Linked DNA regions of Homo sapiens: regions 1, 2 and 3 are each linked to region 4. The links are contacts of gene promoters, found by promoter capture Hi-C in blood cells and fetal thymus (Javierre and others, 2016). All regions are on one chromosome and are shown on one strand. Each heading gives the region's core, a stretch centred on a gene start or on the middle of the fragment in contact. The rest is flanking DNA. Distances are from core to core; before and after follow the strand shown.

Region 1 (2,700 bases), core at 36-2,535, 1.9 Mb after region 4:
TGGCAATGGCTCTTAGCTCAGCTCCAAGAAAGTCAACTTAAAATGACACACTCTTTTAGGAGTGAATCTCCTCTCAATGTGGCACTAGGGAGAGGGAGAATACTGAGCAAGGAGGAAGGGAAGGTGTCAGGACACTCTATTCTCTAAGATGGGTAGAGGCCACTAATCTCCTTTTTCTTTAGAATTAAAATGCCTTTGCAGGACAACCTCCATCCTTGCTTCACCCCGATTTTAAGTGACCAGAAATCATCCCTTTTATTTTGCTTCTAATTGGCATAAATGGTGGAAAATTAAGAAGGGAGGAAGTGGTACTCAGATTATATGTGGCTGTCATACACCATGATAACAAAGATTTGCCTAAAAAACACAGGGGAAATGGGCTACAGGTGCTCTGTAAACTACGGAAGCAGGTCTTGTAGCTGAGAGCTTTCTGCCTGTGTATTTGAGCATGTGTGCACATGCGCGCACTTTTTATCTCAGCTTTGGTTGAAAGCAAGGCATTCAACAGGAGATTTGTCAGGCTCAAAGGGTCCTAATCTTTAGGTGAATCTTCCCTGATATCTTATAGAATCTCCTGGGGGTTTTACATAAGAGTCTGTTTCTGGATGAAGAAGCTAGAGCACTCCCTTCCTCTTTCCTCTTCTCAGAAGAAAACATTATTTTTAACCCAGGTGAATTATAAACAAATATGGTCCCATTTAACAAGAAATTAGGAATTCAGAGTAAATCAAAGGTACTAGAAGTTAGGAAAAGGAATTGAAATAGTGGTCGGCAATTGTTTCAGACACTTTCAAATATTTTTATCCCTCTAAGAGAAGTGGGTGGAAATTTTGTCATTTATAAGGTACATCGAAATTAACCCAAGGAACTCCACCTGGTCCCGCCTTCCCTTCCATTCATTTTGGTAGTCAACAATACTATAAAAATAGTCATCATGCCTTTCCCCCATACACCTCATTATCTATCCTTCTTAGTATACATCTTGAGTAATGCAATTTACTTCAACGTCACCAAGAAAGCCAAGTTCCTTCGGGACTGTCGTTATCATAAACCACAATCTGCTACCAATTTATCTGTCCTTAGCTGCTCCTTGTTGTAACTTCCTTAAAAAAAAAAAAAAAAAAAAAAAAAAAAAAAAACCCAAAACGAAAACAATACAATAAAATAATGATGAAGCAGTTTAAGTCCTGGTTTCTGTTCACTCCTGGGACTTTTCCATTTTAGTTGTTGTTTTGTTTTTGTCACAGTATTCACCCATAACTCATCTAGGAAATAAAACTAGAGATGAATGGAGAACATACCATTCCATGTCCTCCCCCTCACGCAAGTCTACATACACCAGCACCATGGTGAAGTATCTATCATACTCTCGTTTTACTTGTGGAATATTTTTTTCTTATTTTTAGAAAGGACATTAGAACAAGATCATATATAAATTTAAGGCAATCAGTCATGGTGTTACTTTAAAAGAGGAAGACGATTGGTGCTTTGAAATTGTGTTATAAGAAGTTGGAGGTGGGGGGGAAGTATCTTGCTGAATACCATATAAACAACCAACTGAGTTCTGAATAATTACAGAATTATATTTCTCTTACATGGCCTAATGCATTTAACAGTGTGGAGTAAAATGCAACTGTCCTCCAACAAGGAAAAACTACCATGTAAAAACTACGATGTTTTTCTGATTTCAAGAAGAAAGTGACAGCATCAAGATGAATGATATAATGGATGATTAATTTTTCCTCCTGAAAAGATTTAAATTCCAACCAATAGGGTTATTAACTAGATACTAAAATTCTACTGTTAGCATTTAAAATACCTACACATCCACATTTTATATTTGTTTATAAAGTAGTGGGGGAACAGTTAGTTCCATCCATCCCCCACAAACAAAAATAAATTGAGAAGGATGCATTTTACATCCAACTAGAAGTAGCAATACTTAGATATAGAAGTAGAGGGATGAAATGTTGCAGAAAATCTCCAAGATTTATTTGGGTGAATGCCTCTGGGCTGGTGATTTTATTTCACACACACTTGTTCCACTGTGTAGAAACGGAAATCATATAATTTAGATTGAGTTAGATTCAGGTTTTAGGAAATTTGACCATGTGTATCTCTCAACATACAGAAAGGAAATATGGTACAGTTATGGATCTAAACCCTTTGGGTTTCTGAGATTAAGATGCTGTATAAGTATATAGCATATTTTACCAAAAATCTATGATTTCTATGAATATGTGCATGTAGGTGATGGACAGAAATAGGACCTTTTCTTTTCACGTGAATGGCTGTCAAAGGAGAATATCAGATACATTTCATGAAAAGACCAAATATGGCACGTTTTATATAATGAAAAGAATACATCAAGAACCTTGTGAAAATGAAAAATGAGACAAGGCTATAGAGTGAGGCCTATTAAAAGGACAGTCCTCACTTAAAATAATTTATCTTAATATCTTCATTCTTAACCACTGTACATGAATAAAACTTTGATTTTACCTATTTTCTGTCAAATTTATCTTGCCTGCTGGCATTTTTCAATTTACCTCTGATAGAATGGACTTAACAAATTAGCTTCCATTTAAAAAATAGGTTTACATTTATAAGAGGAAAGGGCCTTATAAAAGTGTAAAAGAGCTAAAGTTGAAATTAAAGTTGATATCAGGATTTGTTAGTTCTGCCTGTTTTATTTAACGT
Region 2 (2,700 bases), core at 83-2,582, 1.9 Mb after region 4:
GGAATGACAGGAACTATGGCTTTCTTGAGGGTGGAGGTTGGGAGGAGGGTGAGGATTGAAAAGCTATTGGGTACTATGTTTATTATCTGGCTAACAAAATAATCTGTATGCCAAATCCCTGTGACACGCAATTTACCTAAGTAAGAAACCTGCACATGTACCCCTGAACCTAAAATAAAAGTTTAAAAAAAGAGAGGTCCCACTGCTCCTTGCCATACAGAGGTTTTTTACTTCTCAGGCCACTTTAGTGAATGATGGTGCCAACCATCTTTGATTCTGACTAAGACTTCATACAAAGTCTTAGAGAAGAACCTTTGATTCAGTGTCCTTTGAGAAGTCCAGGTGTTGTAAACCCCATGACAGTAGGGAAGATTTTTGTTTTGTTTCCCATTTTATCTCTGTTGCCCAATACAGACAGCACTTACCATGCAACAGGAATTTTATAACTAGCTGATGAACAAACTCATAAATGAATCTTATATTTTGCCTAATATATCAGTAAAAATAATAGTTATGAATGAATGTGTGAAAACCAACATTCACTTTAGATCTATAAGCCACGTAAAGTGGCTACTTATAGATTGTCATGGGTCTGGTGATTAACAAAGTGTTGATTTCAAAAAATAGGCAAATTCTGTAAATATAATAATTACCTGAATTATTAAAGGGAAAGCAAAGTCAGTCTAATAAAGACCCTGACTTAGCATTTCATAATCAACAAGGTGACTGGTAAAATCTAATATGAAGAGAAATGCATTCAGGATTGCAAAGACAAAAGCTTCTCTGGGAGAAGTTAATAACCCCTGTGAGGGCATTGTCTACCCACAGAAAGTAAAGTGGGCTGTTACTGGGATATTGTTTTTGTTGTAGCAGGCACTGAAAACCAATATCATGTAAGTAGTTTTGGTGCACATAGAATGAGGCATAAAATTGGCCTGCTTTAAATCTTGCCACTCCAACAAAGAAAACCAGAGATAGATACACATAGAATAAATTCACAATGGTTACAGTCTAAGGTGTAAGTCATTATTATATTCATGCAGGAAAGACATTTTGACCTTCTGTAAGATAACATTTTAATGTGGGAAGAATTCACAAGCAGTGATGGGCTTTAAGCAATTCCAGAACCCTTTCTGAATTGCTGGAATTTCACTTACATATACTTAGTAAATGAATTTCATACAGGCAAAGCTGAAAAGTCCCATAGCTAAATCTGTACCACCATGCCTCCTACTTCATACATACACATACACCATGTGTTTCGCTACCACCTTCAAATACAGCAAGTCAGGCAGAGAATGCAGGACTCAGAGTTAGTGTCAAAAAACATTACTATAAATTTCTGCTTGCAAAATGCTGAAGAAAATATGCTTAGCAGGGTTAAATGAGTATGGTAGCAGAACTAAACCCTTCCAAGGCCTCTCTGTCCACGGTTTGATGGGGGGAAATGTTGAAAGTGACAAGCAATCCTTAATTATACCAAGGATCTCATCTGCTATTGTATAATCACTTCCTCGGTCGCATGGAAAGCTCCAGAAGGAAAGTCAAGACTTAAAATTCCCACAAGGAAAGACCATGATAGATGGTCAGTCTGCACAGATTCTGGATCCAGATGGTCTTCTGGGGAAACACACCTGTGTCTTCTGGAAAGTGGAAGTGAATGGCATGCCTTCTTAGAGGGTTACGTGGGGAGCAAGTGACAGCCTTCTTCAAAGTCTCTCCTATACCTTCTAGAAAATAGATCATGCTCAATTTAGTACTCAAAGTCCCTGATTCTGGCTTCTACCTATGGCCCCAATTTCCCACTCTTTCCACATATGCATTATTATGCTCTAGATTACTGGACTTCTGCAATTCTCCATAATCACCATGGGCCTAAAGCTTTTCTACATTCTACTATTTCTGCCTCTTTCCTTTCCTCTCTTCTCAGTCTAGTCATTCTTCTAGACTCATTTTACCTTTGTCTTATTAGCTGTTCCATCTTAAATGTCCACTTAATGTTCTTCCAGGCCACCCCACTCACTTCAGTAATCTGTGCCAACGTGACCTTGGATACACTATCTTTCAGCCATCTCTTAATCTTTGTCTGTAGGCTCCTTAAGGGATTTAATATATGTTTCACATCACCCTGCACCTGCTCAGCACATAGTAGGTATTCAGAAGTAGGTATAAATAAATATTATTTCATGGAAAAGCCATTTAGTGAATTTTTCTATCACTTACTACTATCTCAGGTTATAATTTTAGAAAATTCCTTCTTGATGACAGGAATGTCTTCACAACAGTCAACAAATAAAATTCTTGCATGGTAATGGAATGAGTCAAATCAGTGTACATTTGTAGAATGACTGATCAGTTTTATTGAATTTGGAATAATGTTATTTATTCTCCCATCGAACTGCTTCCTTATGACCCCAGTCCTCTTTGATGTAAACATGTTTAAAACATTGTTCCTTATTGTTTTTGTCCACACTGATGTTAAGGTGTTAAGAAAATGACATGTTGGGCTGTGTATACATTCCGGGGCGATCTCATAGCCAGTGTGCTTAATATGAACACCCAAATGACATGGTTTTAGTCACTTCCTATGACTTGCCCCGCTCTGTAGGAGGAAAGACTGTTGTAAGTGTAGCCTGTGGAGACATGCTGAGAAGATAACTCACTAGTTCCATTTATTGATGCTTTTTTCCAAAATAAGTG
Region 3 (2,700 bases), core at 105-2,604, 2.0 Mb after region 4:
ACCGTTTCCGAGGTCAAAAACGTAGTGTATATACCTAGGAAGAAAAAAAAAAAAAAACAATAATTGGAAAATCCCCGAAGTGGTTTAATGGCTATATGTGTGTAACTGACATAGTGGGCTTCAAATCCCCCATGCTAAACTGGCATAATGCAGGAATAATTTAAATCTTGATATGAGGTTACAAGAATAGTCAGATTTTATTCTATCATGCTTCACTATAATTCCATACTCATCGAGTCCACTTCATTAACACTACCTACTAATACTCTCCAGAGTCAAAGTAGCACAGGTTGTACACTACAAAACATAAGGGGGTGACTTTTAAATTCATCATCAACCATTAATCTGTTTTGGTTTTTGTTTTGGTTTTTTGTTTTGACTATTTTCTAATACATGGTAGTAAAATGTCTTGAGGAAAGGGCAGCTTCTAAAAACTTGCATATATGGGCTAATGGTAGGATTTAAAATATTTATGTTTCATCTTTTGGTATAAATTGGGTGGTTGTAGTTAGTAATACTCAAGAATTAGATGCAATACAAATCATAGCCCTCTTTTGCAAAAATAAGCTTTTCTTCAATAGTTTTAAAGGGCTACATTTCATAGGAAAAAGTCTGTTAGTGTTGAGTTAGTGGAAGACCTTTAAATTAAATCATGAGCCTCTCTCCTTTCCAGACCTAATAATTTTATGGATCCATTTAATCAAGGAAGATGCGAGAATGTGTCAGGAATGGAGGGTAGGGAGTAGAATAGACAAGTTATTTTTATGTCCATATTTTACGTAGAGCTTCAGTAGATTAAAGGTGTCCAACATAAGTCGTGATCCCTTCTACTTACCCCTTGACAAGCTCGACTGCAATGAAGTCATTGCCATCACCACTATTGAAGAGAATGAAGCCATCTGGTGAGGTGGTCTTGAACTGGAAGAAGAGGTGCATGGAGGTGTAAGCCTGAAGAGTGGCAAGGCTCAGGTAGCTGCTCTTGGTCTTAAAGGTGACAGGGTCAGCGATGATGTTCCTCAGTCCAAAACGAGCCTTCAGCTCACAATAATCAATGTCACCATTTTTGCACAAGTCAATGTAGAGAAGGCCATTAAACATGAGGCTCTGCAGATGGCCAATAAAGCTGGAGGGGACAACGGAGATGTAGCGTTTCTCAGTCATGATTCCCGTTTCAATGTTGTGGAACTCCAAACGGGTATGGTCTCCCACCATTGTACCTGTGAAAATTGTAAATGAGGTACAAACAGAAAAGTTACCATCATTTATCACAGCACCCTCAAGTATATTTTTTGGGTGTAACCTGTTTCCACACAGAATATTCAGCTTTCTTGGGTGAGTTCAAGAAAACCAAATATTCAATATGGTAGATACCTTACTTGGCCTCAATCAGGCATTGCCCAAATTACATGCTGTCACGCAGCTGCTCAGCACGGCTCATCATATAAGGGGAAATATGAGGTCATGAGTAACCCAGGCTAAAGGATAAAACTATTGATATTCTCCATTCAGGAGAATCACTGGACACTAATACACACTATAAGAAGAAAGGCCTTTGTTGCTCTGACCCTTGTAAAGACACAACACACAAGTCTTGGGCATCACTACCAAGTATTTTTTCTCGTAATAACTCTCCACTTAGTACTCGTGGGAAGGATTCTATTATAGACTTATCAGTTGAGTTTACCTGCCCAGCAACTGTTACTTTATCTTATAATAACACGTAATTTTTCTTTAGGAAGCTACCCACCCCTCTTGACCTTTCAACCACCTGGACTGGATAAAGTTGACCCTAATCAAGCTACTCAGCCTAGACCACTCAATGTACTTTACCCCCCTAACTGTCACAGACTTTGGACTACAGACTTAAAAAGCGGTCATTACACTTTAGGGTGTATCAGAATCACCTGGGGGGCTTAGGCCCTCAGAGTTTAGAATTCAAAAGTCTGGGGTGAGGCCTGAGAATCTGCATTTCTAACAAGTTTCACAGTGATGCTCTTGTGGCTGATTTAGGGACCACCCTTAGAACTGGCAACAACCCAAGCCATCCCGGCCACACTCAGTTCCAGAGCTCTTGCTGGTACACTTAGGAAAGAGGATTCTTTGCAAGCAAGGACTGCTGGAGGGGTAAGAAGAAAGCTTTGAGTCCCTAGAGGCTATAAGAAAATCAGAGGGATCAGAGGACTAGCAACCCAGAAGACAATTACCAAATGAAGAGAATCATCTGTGCTGTCCTTTGAGACTCTGGATCAAGCCAGGCACCTCCCGGCTTTTTCAAACTGTGTGGCAATAGACTCCCTTTCATGCTTAAAGCGTTTGAGTTGGGTTTCTGACATTCACAACGGAAATATCTTCAGCTGTTACAAATGAACTATTTAGAACTTGTATTACCTATTTTACCTAGAAGTGGTGAGTGACTAGGGCAGAGGGGATAAGGAGGGCTTGAAAAAAAAATACAAAGAGACTGGAAATTTTAATAACAAAATAAAGAAAAACATCATTAATGTGGCCAGAGTAGAAATTGGCTTCCTCAACATTTATATAGAAAAATCATGTTAAAACATAACAAACCATGTTCTACTGCCAAGCATTAGAGGGGGAATTCTTTCTTCCTGTCCTCTCTTGTTACCTTCTACATTGAAAAAACTCCATTAGCAAGACTGATAGCATCTCTTTATTTCCTCTTTAACAACTTTCCTGAAG
Region 4 (2,775 bases), core at 130-2,629:
AAAGAATTTTATTCTAGAGGTGACAAGCAACCTATGTAGAGGTGTAATCAAGAGGCCATTACACCTTTTACACATCTTATTCTGTGGTGGCAGCATGGAGAATGACTACCACACTGTTTGGAGGTTATTGAACTAATTAATTCAGGTGTGCTAAGACACTAGGATATCTCTGAGCACAGAAATATATCTCTGTGCTCAAATATTCATCTACTGTTAAATAGTCTTCATGAGCTAAATTCTTGAGAAAATCTAGAGGTGCAACTTTCCCATTTCTTTTCATCTATCAACATTTTCTTTAATAACCTGCATTTTTTTTTATCTTAACTGGATTTAACCAGCCTAGGTTGTTTTACTGTCCTTTCTTTCTGTTCTCTTTTTAACTAATCAAGACAGACTTTATTCCCTTGGTTTTGTCTACAATTTCAATGATCACTGATTTAAATTGCTGTTAAGAAACAGGTTGTGTGTGTATAATCTTATTTAACATCAGGTTTCTAATCTGGTAACATTTAACATGCAGATAAATGTACTATACTTTTATGAAATTTCATTTCTTTATACCTCTATCACAAAGCAGGGTTCTGGACGTACTATTTCACTGGCAGTTCACATTTGAGTAAGTAACTTACAGATACTGTATAGACAGTTCATTTTAAAAAGGGCCCCTGCTTAAACCTTTGTCAACAATTTGATGAATCAGCAGAACTGCTAAGATAACCTCCCATCTAGAGAAACAAAAAGGAGAAATACATATTTTTGCAATTTTTTATTACCCAAGGTAAGATCAAAAAGGTCAGTTCCTGAGATGCCATTATCCTTATTAATTCAAATAAAACAGATTCAACCAGGGTTAGGCAAAGTGCTGAATAGCAGCTTGTTGGAAAGAACAGCTCTCACGGTCATTGTACACCAAAGTTTTGTAACATTTTCCTGTGTTGGGAATGAGGATGTCAACAATGATACCTTCCCAAGTGTGGGCGATTAAGTTTTTAGCACACACACACATCTACACACACAGACATTCACTCACACATACACACACTCACACACTACTTCGGGCTGTTATTGAGCTGCTTTTGTGCACTTCGGGCCACCTCTGCAGATGCCCTTGATCTCTGGGTCCTACCCTGATCTCTCCCGGGTACTCACAGAGTCTGCGTACTGGGCGGTAAGCTGGGGATGCGTTGAATATCCTTGCAGGTGACTCTGAAGTCCTCCTCCTGATGGCACTCGCAGGGTGGAGACGAACACCCCATTCCGCCCAGGTCCCTGGGCAGGTCGAGCAGCAGCACCAGCTGCAGCAAGTCCGCCGGCCTCATTTTCCACGGGACTCGGGGCTATTTCTCCATCCTCCGAAATCGCCTCATTCTCAGCTCTGCACCTCGGGTTACCCCAGGCCAAAGGAGACCCGGGAGCGGGAGGGGTGGGAAGAGGGAGGGCTCCAAGGGGCTGTGACCTCACCACTGTGGAGGAGGCTGGAGAAGGGGAAAAAGAGGCACTTAAGTGCTCCGCTTCCCTAGGCAACCTTGACCCAAACAAGTCTGCTTGCTTCACTTTCCTTGGCTGGACCCACGCAGTCCGCTCCGTCTGTTCCCTGACACCCAACACCAGTCCTGGCTGTCCCCTCTGTTTTCCAGCCCGCCCCCCCACCCCGGGCGCCCCTCCCATTAGTTCTCTCCAAAGCCTAGTTTAGATGCCCCCTCCTTTCCTCCTCTTTAAATCCAAGGAGCCACCTTCCCTAGCGTGTAGCCTTCTAGACACCCTGTCTGCCTGGGAGCCACTCGCACGCACTCCTTATCCAGAGAAAGTCCCCGCGGAGTGGACTGTCCGCGGGCGGACCAATGTCCTGCAGAACTTCAGCTCCTCCTGGCCAGAGACACCTCTGCTGAGGGTCAGAGGCGGGCACGCAGCCCTGGCTAGCCCGCGGTGCGGCCGAAGCCGTCGCCCTGCACCCCTGGAGGATTCTCGTTGCTATCCAACTGCAGGGGCCACTCCGGTGGTTGAGTCGACTGGCAGCGGCCGCCTCACGTTGCAGCCCGCGGCTCCGCGAGGCAATTCAGGAACTGAACTTTGGGGCCATCTGCTGGGAAGAATCGGGAATGGCAGAAATAATTCCAGGTTCCCTTAATAATGGGTCCAGTATGGAAATTCTGGTCGACCCAAGAATTTCATTGAGTCATATTCCCCCTGGAAGATGGGAAGAAAAATAATACTTAAGTGGCATACTCACCATTCTTCGCACAGTAGCCAAAAAGATCATTACAAACATAAATCAGATTGTGCCTATTTCCTTCTTAAAAGTCTTCAATCACTTATTCCTCTTGGGATAAAAGGAATGTCAATTCCTTCTATACTGCATAATTCCTTTTATATGAACTTGGCTAGGACAGGAAGGAAAAAGTTGTGGTTATGGGAATCAGAATAAAGGTTAGGAAAGATTGACTAGAAAAAGACAGGAGGGAACACACAGGGTTTCCATATCGTAATTAGGCTGGAGGTTAAGTGGATGTATACATTTATCAAAATTCATTAAACCGTACATTTAAAATATGTGTATTCCAAATTTTACAGAAGCTTTATTCATAACCACTAAACGAACCAAGTGTCTCGCGACTAGATAATGGATAAACAAACTCTGATACCTCCACATTGGAATACTATTCTGCAATAAAAATGAATGAACTGCTGATACAACATGCACAAATTTTCTTTTCTTTTTTTTTTTCTTTTGAAACGGAGTCTTGCTCCGTCGCCCAGGCTGGAGTGCAATGGCGC

What was found. Contacts are between HindIII fragments. The CHiCAGO score rates a contact against its expected background, and 5 or more counts as called.
Region 1: a contact is called between a fragment that was not itself captured here and the fragment with the promoter of TSHR in region 4, in 1 of 17 cell types (M2 macrophages). The highest score is 7.3, in M2 macrophages.
Region 2: a fragment that was not itself captured here is called in contact with the fragment with the promoter of TSHR in region 4 in 1 of 17 cell types (M1 macrophages); the score reaches 6.9 in M1 macrophages.
Region 3: a fragment that was not itself captured here is called in contact with the fragment with the promoter of TSHR in region 4 in 7 of 17 cell types (naive B cells, M0 macrophages, M1 macrophages and 4 more); the score reaches 11.3 in naive B cells.

The regions. Positions count from the first base shown.
Region 1 is chr14:79,035,033-79,037,732 of GRCh38, reverse strand. The region is part of intron 15 of NRXN3 (neurexin 3); the gene reads right to left. Among named protein-coding and RNA genes, the nearest start is that of NRXN3-AS1, 39 kb to the left of the region's middle. The HindIII fragment of the contact is 8,428 bases long and covers 1-2,700 here.
Region 2 is chr14:79,011,597-79,014,296 of GRCh38, reverse strand. The region is part of intron 15 of NRXN3 (neurexin 3); the gene reads right to left. Among named protein-coding and RNA genes, the nearest start is that of NRXN3-AS1, 63 kb to the left of the region's middle. The HindIII fragment of the contact is 1,103 bases long and covers 781-1,883 here.
Region 3 is chr14:78,964,542-78,967,241 of GRCh38, reverse strand. It overlaps NRXN3 (neurexin 3), which reads right to left. Exons shown (of 21, transcript NM_001330195.2): 12 at 836-1,217; 13 at 1-34. Among named protein-coding and RNA genes, the nearest start is that of NRXN3-AS1, 110 kb to the left of the region's middle. The HindIII fragment of the contact is 1,569 bases long and covers 570-2,138 here.
Region 4 is chr14:80,954,225-80,956,999 of GRCh38, reverse strand. It overlaps TSHR (thyroid stimulating hormone receptor), which reads right to left and starts at 1,379. Exons shown (of 10, transcript NM_000369.5): 1 at 1,150-1,379. The coding sequence starts at 1,319. It also overlaps a transcript of CEP128 not described here. The HindIII fragment of the contact is 2,816 bases long and covers 1-2,576 here.